2 separate regions of the Homo sapiens genome follow, and region 1 is linked to region 2. The links are contacts of gene promoters, found by promoter capture Hi-C in blood cells and fetal thymus (Javierre and others, 2016). All regions are on one chromosome and are shown on one strand. Each heading gives the region's core, a stretch centred on a gene start or on the middle of the fragment in contact. The rest is flanking DNA. Distances are from core to core; before and after follow the strand shown.

Region 1 (6,088 bases), core at 3,330-5,829, 450 kb before region 2:
CTTAATGACAGCAATTGTTCAGGGCATGTTTATGGACCAGTCTGCAAACAGGAAACTCTACTTCCTGAATATGATAGGAGTTAAATGATACTAACTGGATAAGATGAAAATTTGTGAGTTAAGTGTTCTTTAAAGATCTGTTGCTGAAATGCTTTTCTTGTGAGAAGAGGAAAGAGAAAGCACAAGTTAGTGAGTGAGAGGAGCTTCACTGCAGAGAAACTCAAAGTCAGTCTTTCTGAAAAGCCCTGCTTTCTTTATTGAATTAACATACAACTAGGGTTAACGACATTTACCAGTCAACCTATTTGCAGTCCTCCAAGAGAGCTAGTTTTGGGTTTAAAAAAAAAAAAGGGTAGGGGGGCTGGGTACCATGGCTCAGCACTTTAGGAGGCTGAGCTGGGAGGATCCCTTGAGCCCAGGAGTTCAAGACCAGCCTAGGCAATATGGCAATACCCTGTTTCTACAAAAAAAGAGAAACAAAATTAACTGGGTGTGATAGCTCACTTGTAGTCCAAGCTACTCAGGAGGCTGAGATGGGAGGATCACTTGAGCCCAGGAGGTCGAGGCTGCCATGAGCTGTCATTGCGCTGCTGCATTCCAGCCTGGGTGACAGAGTGGAACCCTGTCTTGAAAAAGGGAAAAAAAAGAGAGAGGTTATAAATCTCTTTGTTTACTTTTCTCCAAAGGCAGGTAGGATACGTTCTCAATGCTTTCAGAACTAGCAGAAACAGATATCTAGAGATAGGATGAACAAAGAAAAAACAAAATTTTCAGGTCACTTAACAGCAGATTGACATAGATGTCACCCATAGATGTCCATGTATACCTGGTGTCCTCTGAGTAAGGATGTGGAGCAGGGATGCTTTTAAGTGCCTTAAGAGCACATGTCTGATTGGGAGTGATCAGGGAATCTGCACTTCCCCCTTTGGGGATGTTTTTTCCCAGGGCACTCCTGGAGTCGTGATATTTTCAGGGCGTTGCATTCTCCCTTTAGAGCACTTTTCTGATCTCATGATGACAAGCATCTTGGTTTTAGTGATTGTGGTTGCATACAGCTTTGCATTGAGTGATTTTGTCGCTTCAATTAAATACAGTTCCCCCTCACCCCCTTTTCTTCTCCCCAGGCAAGGAGAGCCTCATCACTGACAGTGGAAAGCTGTATGCCCTTGATGTCCTGCTGACTCGGCTCAAGTCTCAAGGGCATAGGGTCCTTATCTACTCCCAGATGACCAGGATGATAGACCTACTGGAGGTAGGAGAGGGAATCTTGGGGACCTAGGATACCTTGACATTTAATTTGTAGGAATCAGATGTCCATGACTAATGTTAGTCCTGCTTAATGGGAGCCCCAAAACTCCCTTTTGTCTTTTTTCTTTTTCCTTTTTTTTTTTTTTTGAGACAGAGTCTCACTCTATCACCCAGGCTGGAGTGCAGTGATGCGATCTCGGCTCTGCAACCTCTGCCTTCCAGGTTCAAGGAATTCTTCTGCTCCAGTCTCCCGAGTAGCTGGGATTACAGGCGTGCACCACCACACTCAGCTCTTTTTTTTTTTTTTTTTTTTTTTTAAGTAGAGATGGGGTTTCGCCATGTTAGCCAGGCTGGTCTTGAACTCCTGGCCTCAAGTGATCCACCCACCTCAGCCTCTCAAAGAGTTGGGATTACAGGCATGAGCCACCACACGCAGCCCCCAAAACTCCTTTTTTTGATTTTACAATCTATAAAGGGAGCAGAGTTAGCTCCTGGCATGGGGAGTATGTGAAGGACTTCTGCCCCCTGCCCTACACCAGTGAAATAGAACACCCCTTACATCCTTTTACTAGGGAAGACATTTCTTAATTTTAAAGTAGGTCACAGCCTAGGAATCTAAAATTATGTATGGAAAACAAGATTTAGGATTAGTTCTCTGCGTAAAAAAGCAGAGAACAGCTATTCAACCTGAGTTAATATAGTGATTCTCAACTTGACTACATATCGCAATCACCTGAGAAGCTTTAAAAAAATATGGATTTCTAGTCCTATTTCCAGAGATTCTTATTTATTACATTTGAAATGAGGCCTGGGCATCAGGATATTTAAAAGGTCCTGGGGTGATTCTAATATGCAACCAGGCTTGACAGCTACTAAGTTAGTGGAAAAGATATGACTGTGCAAGGCAGCTTTTGTTTCTTTAATTGCTTCTTTGTTGAAGTTTTTCTTTTTCTTGTCTGAGTGGTGACTTATTTTTTAAGGGACAGGAGGTCACAGACCTAGAAACAGGAGAGTGAAAATGAGAACAGATAATCACAAACTAGTACAATAAGTCTTTATATAAATAAAGTTTGAGAGGCAGAAGTACCTGGTTGTCAGAAGTACATAAATGTTCTCATGTTTTTACATGTGTAAGGCTTCATACCCTCGCCCTGCTACACCAGGGAATCGTAATAAGTAAGTGGAAATTGTACTGTTATTTTCCTTATCTAGGAATAAAGCAATAGGGACCATATCAGTACAGAAGGAATGAAGGCTAGCATTAAGGAGGGTTTTCAGGCTTTTTGGAAGCCAAGATTGGCTTGTTGAATTTTGCAATGAATTTATCTGAAATCAGTGGGAGGTTTCTTTTAATAATCCGGCAACTTCTTTTAGCAAGAGACATAAATGATTTTTGGGGTCAGTTTCAGCACTAAGTCTTAGGTTTCATAGCCCCTTGAATGCTGTTGACAGACTAAACTCTCTGGTTTGTATTATGAGTAGGCCACTTATTCCTAAATGATGGAAGTGCTTATGAGTGAATGTAAGTCACCATAAGAGAGGTGATTAAGCTGTTGTGTTTGATGTATATATTAACTATGTTAAATATCCTAACAGTAGTAATCCAAAATAAAAGGACTGCCTGCATGTCTAGTGTTCTGTTCAAACAGATGATCCCAACAGCCAAAACAACATGAGTAACTTTTCCTGCAGTGGGGCTCTTTTTAGGTAAAGTGCACTTTCCTTGTCCTCAAGAGGCAGGGAAAGTATAGCTAAAGTAGTGATCTTCAGCTGCTAACAATTAAAGAAAAAGCAGTATGCTAAGGATACTGGTAAGGGACATAATGGTATTTCTTTTCCAAGACTATAGTCTTACATGTTGATTCATATGAAAGGAAAGTTCCAAGGGAATGTGAATGAGCAATCCAAAAATAAACTAGCTTCGGTAGGTGAAGGTGAGTGTAGGTGGTTTAAGTTTGATACAGCCTTTATTATAGTCCTTCCCTCGGTGTATCGCACACTTCTAGGTTCTCATTAAATATTACTAAAATAAGTAATTCAGAGTATGATAAGCTTTGTTCAGGATAAGTGCTGTAAACTCTACCCACCAGGATCACTTCCTCTCTATCTATAATCCAACAGTTATTTTTGGGTTATGGACCTAGTGGGTAGGTTTTGCAAACAAGCAGCTTGAGAACCTCTCTAAACATAGATGTATTTCTAAGGGGAATTCCAAATTAGGGAAATGCAAATTCAAAGCCTGAATTTCACAACTGCTGACATTGCTTAGCCATATGTATAACATGCATCTTGGATGTTGAAACCAGAAAATGTTGCAACTATTTGTATGTTTTAAAAACTAAAATGAAATTCTTCTCTGGTTTCCTTAATACTACACTAATGGTTCTTCCTTTAATTTCTTAAAGTTTATTCATTTTTAATTTGTTTTAATATTACCCACTCAAATGAACCACATTCTGTATTCCAGGAGATTAGTACTGAAATAGAATTTAATTTATGAGCATGGAATTACAATGCCCAAAGTGTTTACCATATATTTAATCATTGATTGAAATATAAACATATTGTACGACTTGAGATGGTGCAGCACTAGGTCTGCGTTTTTTTATCTTTGAAAGAGTGTTTTTCAGTCACTTTCATAATAGAAACTCTGAGTATTAACATTCATTAAAGCCATGTTTCAGCATTAAAGCATGACCTGGTACATGATCTTGCAGTGGGACCTTCTGAATAGATCCTGTCCATTGAGTATACTTGATCTTAAGAAAAAACACAAACTTAAGTCTCAAAATGTTGGTTGTTTTGTTTTTATTTCAGGATTTTCCTTTTTCTCTTGAAATCGTATACCCTCTTCAAAGAGAGAAAGAAATGCTTCCAATAGAGTAAGAGTTAGAAACTCACATTGCGGGTATCAAAGCTCTGTGTTGCTGTGGAGTATGTGAGCAACTCTCTTTCATCCAACAGCCTTTTTGGGTTTTTGTTGTGGTGGTTGTTGTTGTTGTTGTTGTTGTTGTTGTTATGTGCCTTAGCCATGGCTGGCTGTCTGTTTCTGGGACTTGGCAGAACTAGAAGACATTAAGAATTCACATACTTCTCTATGGCCAGGTTTCCATTCTGTGAGAAATACTAGTTTTGGACATTACTATTTGCACAGTATTTTTTAAAGTCATTGATCGCTTCCTTTTTCCCTTGGGTAAAAATCTGACTTTAAATTTCTTGTGTATATATCAGATCTTCTTCCAAATAGACTATATTCAGAAATGTTGTATTCTTTCACATGGCATCCAAATAGTAGTATTTCTAGATAGGGGATTTTTAAAAGGAGAGTGCTTTTGCTGTAACAAATGGGCACTAAGAAAAACAAAAATAGTGAAGAGGAGACTGCTTAATTTCCAAGCCAGGAGTTTTTAGTTTGCCACGGGCAGAAGCCAAGGACATAAATAGGTGAGGAAATCATAGATCAATAAATGTCATTATGAGTTTATTTTATATTTACTGAATCGCCTATAGGATCTTTTTTTTTTTTTTTTAAAAAGAGTCTCGCTCTGTCACCCAGGCTGGAGTGCAATGGCGGGATCTCAGCTCACTGCAACCTCCAGCTGCCGGGTTCAAGCAATTCTTCCTCAGCCTCCAGAGCAGCTGGGATTTCAGGCGCGCATCACCACGCCTGGCTAATTTTTGTATTTTTGTAGAGATGGGGTTTCACCATGTTGGCCAGGCTGGTCTCAAACTCCTGACCTCAAGTAATCCTCCCATCTTGGCCTCCCAAAGTGTTGGGATTACAGGCGTGAGCCACCACGCCTGGCCACCTATAGGATCTTGGCTGTTGGGCATACTAGGGGAACACATAATCCCTGTGCATTTGGGATGGTGGTATCCAGCTGGATGTCAGGCAGAACTTTTCCTGCTACCACCAGTTTTACCATGGTTAGGGACTCTTCTCTGTATTCTAGTAGCAAAGAGCTTTTAACTTATTACAGATGACTTATCTCTGAGTCTTCTCTTTTGAGTTTCATTCCTATTGCATCTAGCAACTGAGTTTGTAGTTTAAGGAAATAGGCCACTTGATACTTCCTATACAATAAAGAGTACTTGGAAAGAGTTAATCAGCTTATGCTATATGTGGTGTAATTGTTAAATACTGAAATCCAGACAAATCTTGAACTCTACCAACATATGATAATAGTGTAATATAGAATTAAATCCAGGTAATCCATACATAATGACATTTGAGACCCTGGGTTGTGTAACTTGCTCAGTCATCTATCCAAGCGCAGTGCCTCACTGGGGGAAGATTTATCCTGAGCAGACATTCTGTCATTTATGAGTTGGCCTCTCTTAGAAATGCAGGTTACCTTTGGAAGCTGTGATTCTGAAGATACTGGGAAGCTGGGTATTCTGAAAATGCCCCATGGAATGAAAAGCAAATTGGATTGGCACACTTGATATCTTAAGTTGCCTTCTTGGCCTTCTTCCAAGTGTACTTTACTTCCTTTCAAAAAAAAAAAAAGAAAGAAAATTGGGGCCACTGTTAACTAGAGTTCTTATTAGGTCTTAAGAATTGTAGAAGGAAATTTGTCAGCTTACAACCATGCTGTGTATAAGCTTTTTTAAATTCTTTTTTCCTCCATGCTACCTTTGAGCAAGGCATTAATGCTAGGCAGATGCAAATATTAGTTAGACGTGATGTTTGACTTTAAGGAATCTATTTAGTGGAGGAGACATATACATACACAAATACCTGTCAGTGTACCCTGATACTAATGTCAAAATGAAGCGTGAACAGAGCTGAGGATAGCAAGAAGGATATGTTTATTTCTAACTGAGTCACTCTTGAGGA
Region 2 (5,960 bases), core at 1,108-3,607:
CCCTTCTTTTGGGTGGGGAATTTCTCACATTTCATTACTGCCCCCAAAAGGTAGAAGCCAGAGCCTTCCCACACTCTCTTGCAGCTTGGACATAGGCATTTGACCTGGGCTCTATCTCTTAGACAGAGGCTTTGGTTCAGAGGCACACAGCCGCGGAAGCAGGCTCAGTGTGAAATCCGTGTCTAACAAGGTAGCATTGGAGGCATCTAATCTGGGAGGCCAACAGTCGGGGAGGTTCTTGTGTCAAGTACCCAATCGACGAATAATGCCAGCTATAGATGTTCAGTGGCTGTGGGGTGTTCCCTGAGCAGTCTCTCAGTGAGATTCAGATACTGTCCCTGGCTGTATAGACCTAAAGCCTGACTCTCCACTCACCTTGAGGTTCTGTGAACTATGTAATATTCTCCAATCCTGTGCTATACAATAGGATCACCATTAGCCATGTGCTGTACAATAGCCACATGTGGCTAATTAAATTTAAATTAATTAAAATTTTAACAAGTTTTGAAACAAGATCTCACTCCCATCACCCAGGCTGGAGTGCAGTGGCACGATTTTGGCTCACTGCAGCCTTGACTTCCCAAACTGAAGTGATCCTCCCACCTCAGGCTCCCTAGTAGCTGAGACGACAGACATGTGCCACCATGACTGGCTAATTTTTTGTATTTTTAGTAGAGACGAGGTTTTGCCACATTGCCTAGGGTGGTCTCAAACTGGGCTCAAACAATCCATCCACCTTGGCCTCCCAAAGTGTTAGGATTACAGGCCGGATGTGGTGGCGCAACCTCCGCCTCCTGGGTTCAAGTAGTTCTCCTACCTCAGCCTCCTGAGTAGCTGGGATTACAGGCATGCGCCTCCACGCCCAGTTAATTTTTGTATTTTTAGTAGAAACAGGGTTTCACCATGTTGGCCAGGCTGGTCTCGAACTGCTGATCTCAGGTGATCCACACCCCCTCAGCCTCCCAAAATTCTGGGATTACAGGCATGAGCCACCAAGCCCGGCCAGGAACTGAATTTTAAATTGTATTTTAGCTGGGCGCAGTGGCTCACATCTGTAATCCTAAAACTATGTTGTTTTTGTTGTTGTTGTTTTCTTTTTCTTTCTTTCTTTTTTTTTTTGAGACGGAGTCTTGCTCTGTCACCCAGGCTGGAGTGAGAACTATTTCCTCAGCCAAGTTACTTGGCTACTGATGGTTGGCTGATGTCTTTCATCACGTGTTTCTTGGGAGAGAGTAACTGGTGTTGATCCTGGAAGCTGGGGATGGGGAGGGGTCGATCTCAATGAACAAGCTGGTATCTATCCCCTGAAGGATATCAAAGGTCATCTCCTTTAACAACTACAACAACAAAGCATTCTGACACACACTTCTTATGACCACTCTCTCCTTTATGTACTCTGGCCACACTTCCATCATATACTCTATAATCCTCAACGCCCCCCTCCTTTTTTTTTTTTGAGACAGTCTTGCTCTGTTGCCCAGGTTGGAATGCAGTGGTGCGATCTTGTCTCACTGCAACCTCTGCCTTCCCGGTTCAAGCGATTCTCCTGCCTGAGCCTCCCGAATAGCTAGGATTCCAGGCATGTGCCACCATGCTCAGCTAATTTTTGTACTTTTAGTAGAGACAGAGTTTCACCATGTTTCACCCAGGCTGGTCTCGAACTCCTGACCTCAGGTGATCCACCTGCCTCGGCCTCCTAGAGTACTGGGATTACAGGCGTGAGTCACCGCGCCCGGCTGTCTATCACTGTTTACTGTTATTTGTAAACTTTTATGCCTCCATGGCGGACCCCCTTCCTACACTACTAAGCTGTAAGGATCTCCAGGACTTATATCAAGTCATATGTGTCTTAACTTCACGCTTAACACAATGCTTAGAACACAGCAGGTGCTTGGTATCTATTGACTAAATGAATGAAGGAAAGCTTCATAATTTGATGAATGAGACACGAGTCTCCTGGGAGAGTAAGGAAAGAAGCCGCCGAAGTGCTCTAATTTGGGTAACGAAGGGGTGAAATTTTTAGAAGACAAACACCGACAGAGAAAGTTGTGGAGGAGGTGAACTGGCTCCGGCGACTAGGAAAAGTCAAAAGTCTTGGAAACGACTTCCCTATCCAAGCAGGGACTGGAACCCTGGATCTGCAAGGAATCAACCTGGCCCTCGGGAGGGGAGGGGCAATGCTCAGGGCACGTGACTCCACCGTTTCCCGGCAACCAGAGCCCCGTCCACCGCTCGCCTCTTGCTGCTCCTCACTTCTTCACCACGCTGAGCTCCTCTCGACCAATCGACGCACAGAACATCGTCGGGTGGGAAGGTAGTTGGAGGACTCCTGGGCTCCGTCACTAGGGGACTCCGCCCCTCCCGATTTCCTCCGGGCTACAGGCGACAGAGCTGAGCCAAGCGTTTACTGGGCAGCTGTTACGGTAAGTGAGGAGGGGCTGGGGTGCCCAGCGTTTTGGATCTCCCACTCTGGCCCGGCCCCGGAATACCACATAGAGGCCTTGGGACCTGATTCATCCCGTCCAGACAGCCCTAGAGACCTGAGCGACTGAGGCCTGGGATCTGGACGCCGGAATTTCCTGCGTGGTTCTGGACGCCCTGCCCTGGGGTAAGGGGCCATGCGGGGCTCTGGTGTGAGCAAAGTTTTGGTTTTGGGTGGCTTTAGACGAATTCGGGTTGGGGGTTCACTGTAGCGCTAGACATCAGTTCACCCAGGACCGCCGTGTCATAGCTGTCCCTTTTACTTCCGGCCTTTACGCTGGCTGGGCTCTGTCTCCTGGCATTATTCAGACCTTGCCTCAGGCAGCCTTCCTGATTTCTAAGTCTCCTCTTGAAAGAAGGTGTCAGCCTGTCTCATATGCCTAGATAGTTATAAAAGCCTCCAGGCTCTTTGCGTAGCTTTTCCTACCTGCCCGTGCTTGGGCTGCTTTCGTTATATTTTCCAAACAAGCAGGATGGTATTTGATAAAAACATGGATTCTGGAGCAGCACAGATCTGGTTTTCCTGTCAAGGATTCCCCACATATCAGTAATGTGCCCTAGAGCAAGTTACCCTTCTGAACTTGTTTTTTCATCTGTAAAATGGTGAAAATACCTACCTTTCAGTGATTGTATTAAAATAAGAGCATGAGACATACGGCTGAACTGCATGCGCTGAGCACACAGCCCTTGCATTGTAACAGTACTCTCTGACAGACACTTTTTACCAAGCAGGATCTTCATGTATATGGAACTGTGGAAAGACCTTTAGTCTGTGTTCTGTTGAAAACAGAATTTAGGGGCCGGGCGCGGTGGCTCACGCCTGTAATCCCAGCACTTTGGGAGGCCGAGGCGGGCGGATCACAAGATCAGGAGATCGAGACCACCCTGGCTAAACGGTGAAACCCCGTCTTTACTAAAAAATGCAAAAAATTAGCCGGGCGTGGTGGCGAGTGCCTGTAGTCCCAGCTATTTGGGAGGCTGAGGCAGGAGAATGGCGTGAACCCGGGAGGCGGAGGTTGCAGTGAGCCAAGTTAGCGCCACTGCACTCCAGCCTGGGCGACAGAGCGAGACTCTGTCTCAAAAAAAAAAAAGAAAGAAAGAAAGAAAAAAAAACAGAATTTAATTGACTGGAGATAGAACTGTTGCATTTTGGAGATCTTTGGAGAAAAGTGCAGGCTGGTTGTCCAACCTGGAAATGCCCTACAGATTTGTGTGTGTGTGTGTGTGTGTGTGTGTGTGTTAAAATATATGTAGCATAAAATTGACCATTTTAACTATTTTTGTGTGTATGATTCAGTGGTGTTCACATTGTTGTGCAACCATAACTACCATCCACCTCCAGAACTTTTTCATTTTCCCAAACTGAAACTGTGTACCCATTAAACAGTAATTCCCCATTCTTTCTACCTCCCAGCCCCCAGCTCCCACCATCCTATTTTCTGTATCTATGAATTTGACTACTCAGGTACCTTATATAAGTGGAATCACAGTATCTGCCTTTTGTGTATGGCTTGTAGGAATTCCATTTTTATTTTTATTTTATTTATTTATTTGTGAGACAGGGCCTCGCAATGTCACCCAGGCTGGAGTGCAATGGCGTGATCACCACTCACTGCAGCCTCTATCTCCTGGGCTAAGGTGATCCTCCTACCTCAGCCTCCGGAGTAGCTGGGACTACAGGCATGTGCCACCACACCTGTCTAATTTTTGTATTTTTAGTAGAGATGGGATTTTGCCATGTTTCCCAGGCTGGTCTCGAACTGCTGGCCTCAAATGATCTGACTGCCTCGGCTTCCCAAAGTGTTGGGATTACAGTCGTGAGCCACTGTGCTCAACCTTATGCTGTATTCTTAAAGCCAGTTCTTACTCACTTGAGCTTCTGTTTTATAGCTCAGATTCCAAATGAAAATGTTTGAGAGCGCTGACTCTACAGCCACAAGATCTGGCCAGGATCTCTGGGCTGAAATTTGTTCCTGTCTGCCAAATCCTGAACAAGAAGATGGTGCCAACAATGCATTCTCAGACTCCTTTGTGGATTCTTGCCCTGAAGGTGAAGGCCAGAGGGAGGTGGCTGACTTTGCTGTCCAGCCAGCTGTAAAGCCTTGGGCTCCCTTGCAGGATTCAGAAGTGTATTTAGCATCTCTAGGTAAGTTTGACGGCTCTAGGGAAGCATATTGAAGTTCTGTTACATCAAACTTGGTTTCCTATTCTTTTGTGTTGTTGTTATTCCTGTCACACGTATCTGTCAGATATAATTCCAAGGGATGTTTCAAGCCGGCTGTTGGGAAGCAGCCCCCTTTTCCTTGAACAGATCTTTTTTTATTTTTATTTTTAATTTTTTGAGACTTTCACTCTTGTTGCCCAGGCTGGAGTGCAGTGGCGTGATCTTAGCTCATGGCAACCTCCACCTCCCGGGTTCAAGCGATTTTCCTGCCTCAGCCTACCGAGTAGCTGGGATTACAGGCGCCTGGCACAATGCCCGGCTAATTTTTTGTATTTTTAGTAGAGATGGGGTTTCATTTCACCATGTTGGCTAGGCTGGTCTCGAATGCCTGACCTCAGGTGATCCACCTGCCTCGGCATCCCAAAGTGCTGGGATTACAGGCATGAGCCGCCGTGACTACCCGAACAGCTCTTAAAACAGTTTTTGTCACTTCCTGCCTCTGCCCAGTTCATCTAAATTCTGTGTTTGATTTCTTGGCATTCTGTAGAACCCTCTTGCCTACTGTTGGTTGCCCGTATATTCAAATAACTCAAAAGTGTTAAACCTTATGCCATCCTGCAAGAAAATGTGATGGCCCCAGGGCTACATGTGGATTTCTGATGCTGGAGTTTGAAAAACTTACATAAATAGATTGATTGTTGAGAATGGGAGCATATTGACATAAGATTCATTCTGCCTCTTGTTAGCCATTTTATTTTAAAAATATTTCCTGAACACATTTTCAGTACCCTGTCCTGCGGCCATAGTATAAGTATCTAGAGAGATTCCAAACACAGGAAAGAGATTCAAATTGTCCCATGCTAGGGGAAAAAGAAATATCAGTCTAGGGCGGTGAGGGGCAGTCTTTAGAATTGTAATATCCTTTTATTGTGGAACAACCATGAGATTCATCCATGTTTCACAAAGCCAAACCTGGGAATAAGGCTTACCTTGGCCTCCTGAAGTGCTGGGATTACAGGCGTGTGCCACCGCGCTTGGCCCTAATTTTTTTATTTCAATAGCTTTTGGTGTACAAGCGGTTTTTGGCTACATGGATTAATTGTATAGTGGTGAAGTCTGAGATTTTAGTGCACCCATCACCCAAGTAGTGGACATTGTACCCAATGTGTAGTTTTTTATCCCTCACCCCTCTCCAAACCTCCCCACTTCTGAATCTCCAAAGTCCAGTATACCACTTTGTGTTTTGTTTTTTTTTTGGTTGTTGTTTTGTTTTTTTTTTTTGAGACGGAGTCTCATTCTGTTGCCCAGGCTGGAA

What was found. The method cuts DNA at HindIII sites, captures the fragments that hold promoters and counts their contacts. A CHiCAGO score of 5 or more calls a contact.
Region 1: a fragment that was not itself captured here is called in contact with the fragment with the promoter of CCDC32 in region 2 in 1 of 17 cell types (M2 macrophages); the score reaches 5.2 in M2 macrophages.

Annotation. Positions count from the first base shown.
Region 1 is chr15:41,011,252-41,017,339 of GRCh38, reverse strand. INO80 (INO80 complex ATPase subunit) reads left to right here. Exons shown (of 36, transcript NM_017553.3): 27 at 1,125-1,252. INO80-AS1 (INO80 antisense RNA 1) reads right to left here and starts at 540. Exons shown (of 5, transcript NR_170322.1): 1 at 505-540. The HindIII fragment of the contact is 2,553 bases long and covers 3,303-5,855 here.
Region 2 is chr15:40,561,439-40,567,398 of GRCh38, reverse strand. CCDC32 (coiled-coil domain containing 32) reads left to right here and starts at 2,357. Exons shown (of 4, transcript NM_001080792.4): 1 at 2,357-2,423; 2 at 4,372-4,627. The coding sequence starts at 4,384. RefSeq lists a silencer at 3-182 and enhancers at 1,135-1,429, 1,909-1,958. The HindIII fragment of the contact is 7,257 bases long and covers 1,927-5,960 here.